3 separate regions of the Homo sapiens genome follow, and all the other regions are linked to region 2. Evidence: promoter capture Hi-C in human tissues and cell types (Jung and others, 2019). All regions are on one chromosome and are shown on one strand. The core of a region is centred on a gene start or on the middle of the fragment in contact, and the rest is flanking DNA. Distances in the headings are between cores, read along the strand shown. Region 1 overlaps EYA4 (EYA transcriptional coactivator and phosphatase 4). Region 2 holds the start of EYA4 (EYA transcriptional coactivator and phosphatase 4). Region 3 overlaps EYA4 (EYA transcriptional coactivator and phosphatase 4).

What was found. Contacts are between HindIII fragments. The study calls those that stand out against the background at their distance.
Region 1: a contact is called between a fragment that was not itself captured here and the fragment with the promoter of EYA4 in region 2, in 1 of the 25 tissues and cell types used here (aorta).
Region 3: a fragment that was not itself captured here is called in contact with the fragment with the promoter of EYA4 in region 2 in 4 of the 25 tissues and cell types used here (H1 embryonic stem cells, dorsolateral prefrontal cortex, liver and 1 more).

Annotation. Positions count from the first base shown.
Region 1 is chr6:133,375,149-133,378,958 of GRCh38, reverse strand. All of the region lies in intron 2 of EYA4 (EYA transcriptional coactivator and phosphatase 4), which reads right to left. Among named protein-coding and RNA genes, the nearest start is that of EYA4-AS2, 80 kb to the left of the region's middle. The HindIII fragment of the contact is 3,623 bases long and covers 285-3,810 here.
Region 2 is chr6:133,239,698-133,243,714 of GRCh38, reverse strand. It overlaps EYA4 (EYA transcriptional coactivator and phosphatase 4), which reads right to left and starts at 2,358. Exons shown (of 20, transcript NM_004100.5): 1 at 1,966-2,358. LOC124901231 (serine/arginine repetitive matrix protein 1-like) reads left to right here. Exons shown (of 3, transcript XM_047419612.1): 2 at 1,304-1,496; 3 at 2,059-3,395. The coding sequence ends at 2,929. RefSeq lists enhancers at 228-1,120, 1,121-2,015. The HindIII fragment of the contact is 6,618 bases long and covers 1-4,017 here.
Region 3 is chr6:133,480,854-133,484,710 of GRCh38, reverse strand. EYA4 (EYA transcriptional coactivator and phosphatase 4) reads right to left here. Exons shown (of 20, transcript NM_004100.5): 12 at 3,112-3,248; 13 at 1,596-1,679. Among named protein-coding and RNA genes, the nearest start is that of EYA4-AS2, 26 kb to the right of the region's middle. RefSeq lists a silencer at 3,097-3,270. The HindIII fragment of the contact is 3,772 bases long and covers 1-3,332 here.

The DNA.
Region 1 (3,810 bases), core at 847-3,346, 140 kb before region 2:
ACACACACACACACACACACACACACACACACCAAGACAGAAAGGATGAATAGCGTAAATGAATGCAACTTGCTGCAAATAAAGTGAACTTTAACCTATGCAATATCTCTTCAGAGAAATTATAAAAATACAGGAAAATTCCAAGCACCATGAAAAAGAGTTAAATATTTAACTATTTTAAGAAAAGCAACTATTAGTATTCAATGAAAACATAAATATCAAAATTCTAAATTTTTGAGATGAAGGAATGGGTGAATAACAGCTAAAATTTTTGAGTGTTTTCCACATGCCAGGCACAGTGCTTAGATATATACAATTTTCTTCCCAGTTCCCATATAGTAACACTGAGAAGCAGAAACAACCTGAAAGCAAGTTATGTAGCAAATTTCAACTCCAGATCTATGAAGGCATTTTAACCAGAACCTATGAAGAACCTAAAATTCATAAACATATGAATTAAAAATGTTCAAAATGAAGATCAAAACGTCTTAATATTTAAAATTTGACTTCAATTACATAACAATAATAATTACTGCCATTTATTAAGCAAATATTCTTTTCCACTCACTCTGCTAGACTATGTATATATATAATCTCATTTAATGCATGTAGACAGGTATGATTAATAAAATCCTCCTCTTATGAACTAGAAAACTAATGTGCAAAGAGGTTCAACAACTTGCCTAATATCCCACAGCTAACACTAGCAAGGCTGGAATTACAACTTAAGGCCACACATCAAGCCTTTCATTCTCTCCTATGCTACATTTGCCAGTTGTGTTCATTAGTTTACTTTCCTTTCTTTTTAAAATCTCACTTTATTGAGGTATGATTGATATACAAAAAGGTACACCTATTTAATGTATACAACTTGATGAGTTTGAGATAAGAATGCACCTGTGAAACTACCACTGTAATCTATGCTGTGAACATATCCATCACTTCCAAAAATTTCCTCCCAAATTGTGTGTGTGTGTGTGTGTGAACATAATATAAATCTACTCTCTTAGTGAATTTTAAAGTATACAATATTAGTGCCTATATTGTTGCTATAGGCACTGTTCTGTACAGTGGATTTCTGGGAACGACCCACCTTGCATAAGTAAAACTTTGTACCCTTGACTAATATCTCCCATTTAAAACTAAGAGTGGAAATTAAAGTTCTGTGGAACAATTTTCAAAGAAGAACCTACTAGTTACTTTTATAATACATCAGTCATTAAAGGAATCCTTTAAACTAGACTACTGAAGTAACCAGTTTTTACCAAGCACTAGTAACATTTAAACTCCATGTAAGCAAAATAAATAGTAGTTTTGAAAAAATTATCCAGATATCTCTAGCATCCACCTCCGCCACCACCCCAAAAACAGCCAAAAAAAAAAAAAAAAAAAAACTAATGTGAAAAACAACTTCTGCGTTGTTTCTTTTTCTGTCCAAAATATCAAGATTTGCTCATTCAGCAAGGCTTTACTGAATGCCTGAGATATCCGAGGCAGTGTTCCAGCCACAGAGATGAACTAGACGTAAGCAGTTTGACACAGGAGCCACTAACCACACGTGGCTATTTAGAGCTTGAAATGTGGCTGAATTGAACGGAGATGTGCTGTTAGTGTAAAAAGCACACCAGATTTCAAAGTCTTACTATGAAAAAGAGGAAGTAGAATATCTTAGTATTTTTGATATTGAGAGTAAAATGATATTTTGGGTATACTGTGTTAAATAAAATAATTTCTCCTGTTGATTCTTACTTTTCAAGTGTGACTACTAGAAAATTTAAAATACGCATAGGATTTGTATCATTTTTCTACTGAACAGCACTCACCTAGACCAACAAACACCTGTCTGCCCAACAAACACCTCCTCCTCTAGTGGAGGAGACATACAAGAAATAAGTAAACTGGTAAATGAACAATACAATGCCAGCAGTGGTTAAGTGCTGAGATGAAAATAAAGCAGAATAAAGGAGTAGAGAGGACTGGTCAATATTATTACATTAGTCACACAATTATTTTTAAATGTCATTTCTCTTATTACACAACACTATGCATCTCTTATTTCACAATACTATTCACCCCTCAAGCTTTTTAGGTTGTATTTACGTAAGTAACATAAAGTATACTTTAAAATAAAGAATGTGTGATTTGGTATTGAGAATAATTAATACTTTCAATATCTGGAAAATATATGTAGAAAATACCATAATTTCTGGACTCTTTGGAATTATGACTATTACATTCATATATAAAAATCAATCTTAATTTTTTTAATGTTTCCAAACCACTAGGTGCTTTGAGAAGCTCACAATCTTTTGAGGAGAATTAACTCATAAAAAAAGTTTGCAAATAAGAGCAAGGTTCTTTTATTATATCTAGCATCTTCCAAAATAGCTGGGCTCAATTATCCCAATTATCTTCTAGTGAATAGTTCTGATTACAAATCGTGAAACATTAATGGGAATAAAAAATGTAAAGAATAGAATAATGTAAGAAGACATTTTCAAAAGATCTCTTTTGGAACTTCATTTTGTTTTGAAATGAGCATTAATAATTGAGTCTTAGGACATACTATACACTGAAAACAAAAGGTGGATTCAGCAACTATAAATTCGAGATTAAAATTTCACAAATGAAAGTTTATGTAATAAATAATTTATTAATATATATTCTTATGGATGGTAAGACTACTTCTTCACTGAACTGTGTAGAAAATATAAAATATAATGTAAATGAGATTAAATGCACTATTGCTTAAGGAAAACATGGATAAGCAGATAGAAAAATATTTTTTTCCAAAAATGGAGATTATATTACAGATTATTGCATGCCAAACTCTTTGTAAACATAGAAAACGATACAGAATTACTGTGAACAACAATTTAGACTTGTCGGCTTTGTTGGCATTTCTAATGTGAATACTCTAAGATGTGAATCTGACTGAATAAGTGATATTTATTTCAAAAAACTGTAGTATATCAATGCCTAGAGTCTTATATGAATGCATACTTTATGAAATGAATTTTATGACTGGGTTGAATAAAATTGTTGTAAATTATTGCCTGATTAAGCAGAATGGTATCTAACTTTAGTTACCTTTGGCTTCTAATTTAGCGAAAATAAAAGACTTCTTGAAATGTCCATGGCTATGTGACATTTTTCATATTTTCTAATACTTACAAGTTATCCATATTTGAATTTTAAATTAAATAATGTAATTTAAAAGTATTTTAAATAATTATTCCAGCTTTATTCCAGGAATAGCTGTCATGTTCTTATTTAATGCATCTCAATTGACTGGCCCTTATCACATTAATTTTTTTAAAAATTGATAACCGACTGATACAGGGTTTAATGGGCTGCCCTAGATTATCCTGGTTTCTAGTTAGCAGCATTTAATACATATGAATTAAAATATATCCTTTCCTATTACATATGTCCTTTCCTATTACATACCTCAGGAATGTATGAAGGAACATAAAAAAATGTAAAAGTAGGTATTAACTTAAAAATTGAGTCCTAATGTAATAAATGAAATAGGCAAAACATAAACAATTTTTACAATATAAGCTTTTACTAAAAATTATTCCAAAGTTTACTTACGTACAGGTGTGAAAGAAAATATATACTCATATCCTAAATATAATATTTAAAAGTTAATACCACTCAAGGACTTCCCATAAGATGTACACTTTACTGTGATAACCTATGATTATTTTTGGATCCAAGTAAATATGATTTATGTTGTGAAGATCTTCATAGGATTGGTGTACTGCTAGGCCCATAGGGATATAAACTTGGAGATGCACTTTCTCA
Region 2 (4,017 bases), core at 1,109-3,608:
TTTTGGTTCTTCAGGTTTAAGCTTGCCAATAATATTTTAAAAGACAAAAAAAAAAAAAAAGGCACTGATTCTGCTTAAAACCAAACCGTACCCGGGAAAGGAATTCAAGTACAATCCCTTCCCTAAGGTTTTAAAAACAAAAACAACGCAACAAACAAAAAAACCATCGTCAACTTTCAATCCTGTCAGTCACCTACGTGTAAGTGAAACTTCAGAAGCTGCTGATGGGGAGCCCGCGGTTGTTAAACGCTCCTAAGACTCCCACCTAAATCCCGCAGGAGCCCGCACTGAAACTGACAAACACCCGAGGGTTCACAAAGTGGCCACAGATGAGAAGAGGAACAAAATGCCATATTCCAGGAGGTGTATTTCGCTCCAACAATTACGTTGATCCCAGGGTGCCAAGCCAAAAGGGGTAAGGGAGAAAGAAAACTGTTAAGTATGAGCCCTTAATGTGAAACCTAACCTGTTGGTTCTCTTAGGTATCAGATTTTGGAAGTGTCTGTAATGACAGCCAGGAAAGCAAACTAATGGCCAACGGCCCACTGGGTTTGAACACCAGAGTCCTGTTACCTCCTCACAGATCAAGTACACAACACACACACACACACACACACACACACACGAAGTTGCTCCACGTGGAACTGCTCTGGAACCAAAACACACGCCCGGGCGCTATTCTGCACCTTGGCAGAAAGGGCAGAGGGACCTGCACCTTCCTCCCCTGCCCTCAGGTTAAGATTCATGAATGACTCTCTAGGCCCGCTCGGGATGGCGGGGAGAGGCGCAGGAGACGCGGTGAGAGAGGACAGTCTCCACACCACTCTCCCGCACACACTCTCACCCCAGGCGCAAATCCGTTGTCTTCATAGGAAGGAGAAAGAGGGGTGGTGGTGAAGGGAAACACTATCCTCCCAAGCAGGGAAGAGATGACAAAAATTAAATTGCGCTCTCTGCTTTCGCCCCAGCTCTGCCACCGGACTCGGTCCGCAAATTCCCTAATCGCTCCGAGCTGTTCAGAATCTCGCAAACAAAGGGAGAAAACTCTTTCAAGTGCTACCAAACGAAAGTTCGGGTTGCTGTGCGGCGCAGAATAAAACAAGCACACACACGTCTACTTCCAAACCTCGCTTCACCACGCTAAAAATCCGAGCCATTTCAAGTTCCACTGCCTCCCCAGACCCAGCAGGCTTGGAAGGAGAGAAAAACCTGCTCTACCCAGCCAGGTCCCTTCCTTTGGAGAAGTTATAAGCCTTCCATGGCACCCGCTACTCGAGCCAATGAACGCGACTGCTCTGACAAGGCGCCTCTAATTTCACCGACCCTGGCAAACTGCAGGAGACATTCAGTCCACGCCACATAAAAACTATTAAAGTGGGATCGCCGCAGTTGAAAAGCCCGATCAGTGCCTGGAGATTAGAACGCGAGCCTTTAAAGTACACACGCACCCGGCACCGGGAAAGCCCAGGCGCCTGTGACCCTCCGAAGGACTCTGGGTCAGCATCCTCGCGCCTGGACCATCTAGGGGGTCATCAGAAAGTAATACACGTCATAAGAAAGATGTGGGGGAGACCCCGATGCTCGCGCCTCTGCCAGGTGGAGGCGGGGTGCAGGTAGAAGCCGCGCGCTGGACTGCTGGATGAACTCCGTTACGCGCAGGCTCCGCGCCGACCCCGGAAGGGACAGGCAGGCTCGGAAGGGACCCTTGGGGCTTGGGGACGTCTTCTAGGGCAGAGAGCACCGCTGCGGTCCGAGCGGCCCGGGCCCTCAGGCGTGGGGCACCCGGCCTCCAAGCGCCCCCCGGGGACGCAGGCGCCCACGCACCGTCCAGCTGCGCGTCCTCAGTACCCAGCGCTCGGCGTCCCCGGCGGAGCCTCGCGCACTTTCCCGGAAAGTTTGGGGGTTCTCTCAACTCAGGCTCCCCCGGGAGCCCTGGGGCGGGGGTTGGAAGAAGGGGTCACTCACCTCGTCGCCCGGTCCGCCTCGGGTTCCCGAAGTGTCTGTCCCAGCCGCGGTTCAGTGCGTCCGTAATTAAGTATTTATTCTCGTTCCTTCCAGTGTCGAAGTTTCCCCTTCGCGCTGTGCCTCTGGTGAAAACAGGACATCCCCTTCGGCCACCCCACAACAAATAGCGTACACAAGCGGGGGAGAAGCGGGGCGGAGGGAGAAGCCGGCTCCGAGGGGGAGGAGGAAAGGAGAGGAGCCAAAACTCCGGACTGCGACAGGGGGGAAAGGAGAAGAAAAGAAAATGAGAGAGCGCGCCCAGCCGCCGCAGTCGTCACTCCCCGGCTTTTCCCGCAGCTCTTTCCCCCTCTCTAAGGCAGCGACAACTTCACGTGGACAGGATGGAAGTTTTGCGCGGAAGCCGGGAACGGCCGGAGCGTGCGCCGCGCTGCCGGCAGCCTCGCACTTGCGCAGGGAGGTGGGGCGGGGGCGACGTCGCCACCGGCTACTGCGGGCTCGTGAGGCCGCCGGGGGCCTCGGGGGAGGCCGCCAGGGACGCGGGGGGCGGCGGCGCGCGGGGGACCCACTCCGTTTTTATTTGACCTCGGGTGACTGCCTATTGTCATGGTTTGCGATCTCGCGTGGGGACCGCCCAGGGCCTCGGGGCCCTGGATGTCCCGGGTGGCGCCGCCGTAATCTCCGTGCCCTCCGCGCCGCCCCCACCCCGCCCCCACCCGGGCCGACTCGAGCGGCTGCAGCCTCCAGGCTGAGGGGAGGGACCCGCGACCGCGCTCTCCTCCCTGGGCCGGAGAGCCACTGTCGATCCCCACCTGCTTCTGTGGGGCAGCCCCCGGAATTGCCTGGAACTCTCTCGCTACCCAGTTCCCCTGTGCAGGCCACTGCGGGCCCCCTGCCGGACTCCTTTCCACTTACCCCAAGGGAGGAGACAGAAGGGACTTCGCCTACTTGCAACAACGTGAAATAAAAACCAACCCAGACCAGACTGGGGCGCTTTTTCTGACGGGAGGAAATACCCTTTTCCGTGGAGATATATGTTATGAAGGACTAAGCGGTCTGGGGATAGGCTGTGCTGCGAAGGGCCTGGGCCCCTTCCAGTGCTGCTGGGTGCAGGTATAGGCATCCGTCCCAGACGCCCAAAGGTCAGGCAGCAACGACTTACTTCCAAGGCGGCGTCAGAGCTTCTCTAGGCACATTGCTGAAATGACATTTCGTGTCTAAGCCTTCTGCGCATGCACTACGCGACTACATAGGATTTACGATTTTATACCCACACGTGTGTATGCCACAACCAGGGGACACAGCAAAGGTAGACGGAATAAACAATCCATAAATTTTGCATCCATTTAATCACCTCTTCCAAAAACCTATTGTCTATTTTAGCGGCACCTTCTCTGTCATATTGATAATAAATGTTTTAATTTATTGATAAATCACTGAGTGTCAATCATTGTATTGGTCACTTATGGTACATGAGTTCATTTAACTTCCATGACAACTCTACGGTGGTCATTATTAAGCCGGTATAAAAGATGAGGAAACCAAAGCCCAAAGAATCATGAGTGACTTTTCCAAAGACAAATCCAGTGGTCTCTAATCACAAAGCCTATGATACAACAACCTCTACATTACCTTAGGTGTGGTCTAAGAGATTACAGATTAATCCGTAGAAATTACTCCCATTCAAAGAAAGTTTAGTTTTAATATATTCACTAAGTTACGTTCTGAAAAAGGTTCAGAAAAAAGATTTCATCCTCTACTTTAGGTTGGTCTTATGCAACTGATATGAGCACTGTCTAATTCAAAAGCAGTATCAACCCTGAATACTTATGGTTACAATTTATTTTTTAATGAGTGGGGAATTATCTACAATGCTTAAGAGGCTCTAGAAAAGGTGGTGTTGTAAATTTAAAATGATAAAGGCAGTCGTTGCTGCTCTCATCACTTACTGGGTGTTCTTTCCTGCAGATTTATTTTGGAGGGTGTAGGCATTGCCAGGCATAATGTTTCCTTTTCTGGTTCTCAAGGTAGAAAGGGTTCTGGCAGTGGGGTTGG
Region 3 (3,857 bases), core at 197-2,696, 240 kb before region 2:
GCAATCAGCTCAACAGGATTTACTGTGTACTTCTGATAAGCCAATACTACTTAGAATAAATTCTTCAGATTATAGTCTGGAAACTTTTTATATTGCACACTTAATCAGTAGTAGGATATTGAGTGTGTACTCCAAATTTCTGTATAATTTACTTTACTTTTGTGATAAAGGGGCTAACACTTCTTGTAAATGGTTGTTAAACAAAATTATTACCTTCACATCTGTTTAGAAATATCCATTACCTCATTACCTATACTAAAACCAAATGACAATGCAGATTCACCCAAAGTGTAATTTAGGAAGACTAGACTTCAACGCAATTTTATCATTACTTGTCAGAAGACAAAGCTTAATATAGCTTAATATAGACAAAGCTAAAAACTGCATGAGCATGAGATATTATAAAATAATGGAATGCTATGAAGACATAGGAAGACATTTCTGTAAGCGTGATATGTAAAGGAACCAAAGATACAACTTTGAGTATAGTAACTGACAGTAAGCCAACATGTTCTGAGTTGGCTTTAGTTTGATTATGAGCCCTACAGAGTCTAAGACTTAAACAGTTATTGCCTAAACAGCTGTGTTTCTAGCCAAAAAGCCTTTCAGAGTTGCATCAGTCTTCGGAGAAGCACTCACAGAGGTTTGTAATAATGATGTTATAAGAAGCTAACTATAAAAATAACTGCTGGGTGTGGTGGCTCACGCCTGTAATCCCAGCACTTTGGAGGCCGAGGGGCAGGCAGATCACTTGAGGTCAGGAGTTCGAGACCAGCCTGGCCAACATGGTGAAACCCCGTCTCTACTAAAAATACAAAAATTAGCCAGGCATGGTGGCGGGCACCTGTGATCCCAGCTACTCGAGAGGCTGAGGCAGGTGGATCATTTGAGCACGGGAAGCAGAGGTTGCAGTGAGCCAAGATCATGTCACTGCACTCTAGCCTGGGGGACAGAGTGAGACTTTGTCTCAAAATAATAATAATAATAATAATAATAATAATAATAATAATAACAATGAAATAAATAAATAAAAGAGAAAATAAAAACAATAGCAAGAGAGAAAGGCAGGTGAGGCATGAGACCATCTATTGCTGACTTTGTGTATGGGAGGGGGTGTTACCTCGGTTGCTGTTCATATGTGTACTCAAGTCACAGAAAAAACACTCATTCATAAATCCAAAAGATCTGTCAGACGAAAGATTACTCGCTATTGCTATAAAATTGCAACAAATTAATTTAAACAATTTCTTAAAGCTCTTTTATTGGGGATAATATATGATTTTATAATGTTTTGAAGTCCATTTCGATTTACAATTTTTTTTCTAAAATAATTATGTGAGACTAAGAAGCTTGGTCTTGATGTAGAAAACTCAGTCCTTTTGAAGAAATAGCAAGGAATTCAATTTATAATTAGCTTTGTTAAATTTGCCAGTTCATATTAAAGAACTATAAGACACTAGAAATAGATAATTAAGAGAAGATTTCACAGACTGCAATAAAAAAACACTTAAAAGAATTTTTAAATAGCCCTTGATTTTAAACAAACACAAAAAATTTAACAAGATTTCTTGGAGTAACATTTCTTGATTTCTTACCTTGCCATACTTCTGTGCATAAGACCCGGTGAGCAGTGAGTGAAAAACAATGATGGTTTCATCCAAATCCCAGACAAACACACGCTGAAGACAAAAAATAAATATCAGAAAATTAAAAAGTCCAAGGAAACAGAAATCTCTTTACAAGCAGAAAATGTCTCCCTTCCTAGAGATCATCTTGATATCATTTAATAGAAAATAATACTATTCATTTTTTTGTTTTTCAAATTTGCCAAATCTAACTCCTATAAAGCCTGAGGAGCAGGAATTATACAAATTATAAGCTTAAGAGTCAGATGTCCTCGCTTGAATAAATTAATCCATACATTTACTCGTAGTTAACACCAAAAAGAGATACATTCAGACTTTATGATAGAAGCATGCTTGAAACTCTACATATTTTAAAGTTTTATACCTTAGGGATTCATAAACTTTTACAATTTCTGCAAAGAATTAGATTTTAAAGAAATATTTAAAAGAATCAATGAGTAACCGCTAAACAGAATTGTCAAGTATAGATCCTGGGGTCACATTAGGCCAGCAGATATGTTGGCCTCCCTGGAGTTTTGAAGGATTTCAAATTATGAATTAACATTTGAGAACTAGGCAATTGCCCACAAACTTCAGGGTTTTGACTGTAGCACAGCAACTAGAAGTTGTGGCCAGGCTGGCTGCCATTCCTACATGGCAGTGACAGGCAGGTCCCTCAGAATGGGCCTGCACTCTGAGCTCCTCACAGTCTGCTGGGCAACTCAGCCCGGTCACTCATTTATATCATCTGTCAAGTTCTTGAGGCAATGTGAACTTGTTGCTGTTGTTCAAGAAAAGGAAGTTATCTCTTATAAAGAATCACAACGTCTGTCACTTGATTTTACTAAATCTGGAAGTTCAATTTTTTTCTTAACCGAAGTATGTGGTATGTAAGAAGTAACATATTATGGTTAAGAATAGTTTCTACTGATGTTGTATATAAAAATCAACCCTGCTTAGTACAGATATATCTCAAAAGAACTCATAAATAGAAAGTGACATATAATGAAATTTTCAGATTTTAACACATACTATTAAGTGATTGAAACTTGTCCTATTTTTAGAAGATGAATTTTTCTTTCTATACAAATTACTTTCATCTTTTTAAACTTAATGACCCATTTGGACATCTTCCATTACTTTAGTGCTATCGAATACAGTGCTACATAGAAAAGTATCCCACAAACAATGGCTATAGTTTTAAAATTTGTCGGTGCCAATTTAGATCAAAACTTGCAATTATCTCAGGCCAATAATCTGTAAATCAAGATCATTTTTATACTGTTATTTGTTCTTAATTTTAATATTATAATGGATGGAATCTCAAACTTCAGAGTTGTAAAATGCCTATCACAAAGTAGTTCCATTCAATTCATGATATATCTTGATTTTTAAATTTGAAACATAATGGAACTGTAAGATAGAGAATGTATCATTCGGTAAAATAAAGCATCACACTACAATCTTTAAGAATGAGTAGGCATACCTCCAGGTCACTATCAGGAGGCGGGGAGGGATTATTTTTCCGGCCTCTTCCTCTGGACTTTGACCCAGAACTCCTACAGGTTCTCTCATCAAGATCTTTGATGGGTGTGGAGGGACTCTGCATGGTATCGAACTCTCCTATAGATAACATGACTTAGGTCAAGAATAGCACTTCATTTTTAGATCAAGTATGAGTCTTCATTATTAATTATCTTAACAAATTCCTATACAATAGAAACCTCCTGATGGCAAAAAAGAGATTTATAATCCCAAGCACACACAAGTCAGTCAGAACTTTTGTAGTTTACACAAACTCCTACTAGTTGTAATCTATGTGATCTATTAAACTTGAATGTCTTTTCTACACCATACGCCTTCAACTTCCTGTCTATACCTTCACTTACATATTTATCTCCATTTAGATATGTCCTCACCTCCTTTTTTGTCACAGTTCAGAGAATGAGATGTCTTCTTCTGGATCAATTCCATCCCTCCACCTGCAAACCTGACTCCCAGCCCCACCTCCTAGGAAGTCATGCTTCATTAGTCAAACCCTCTCTCATCTTCCCTTCCACCTCTCTCATCTTCCCTTCCACCTCTCCCATCTTCCCTTCCACCTCTCCCATCTTCCCTTCCACCTCTCCCATTTTCCCTTCCACCTCTCCCATTTCTTGGGGTCACTGAGAAGTTAAAAAGTCCTTCCCTCTGACCTGGAATTTCCATCTAGATACTATTTGCTTCCATTTT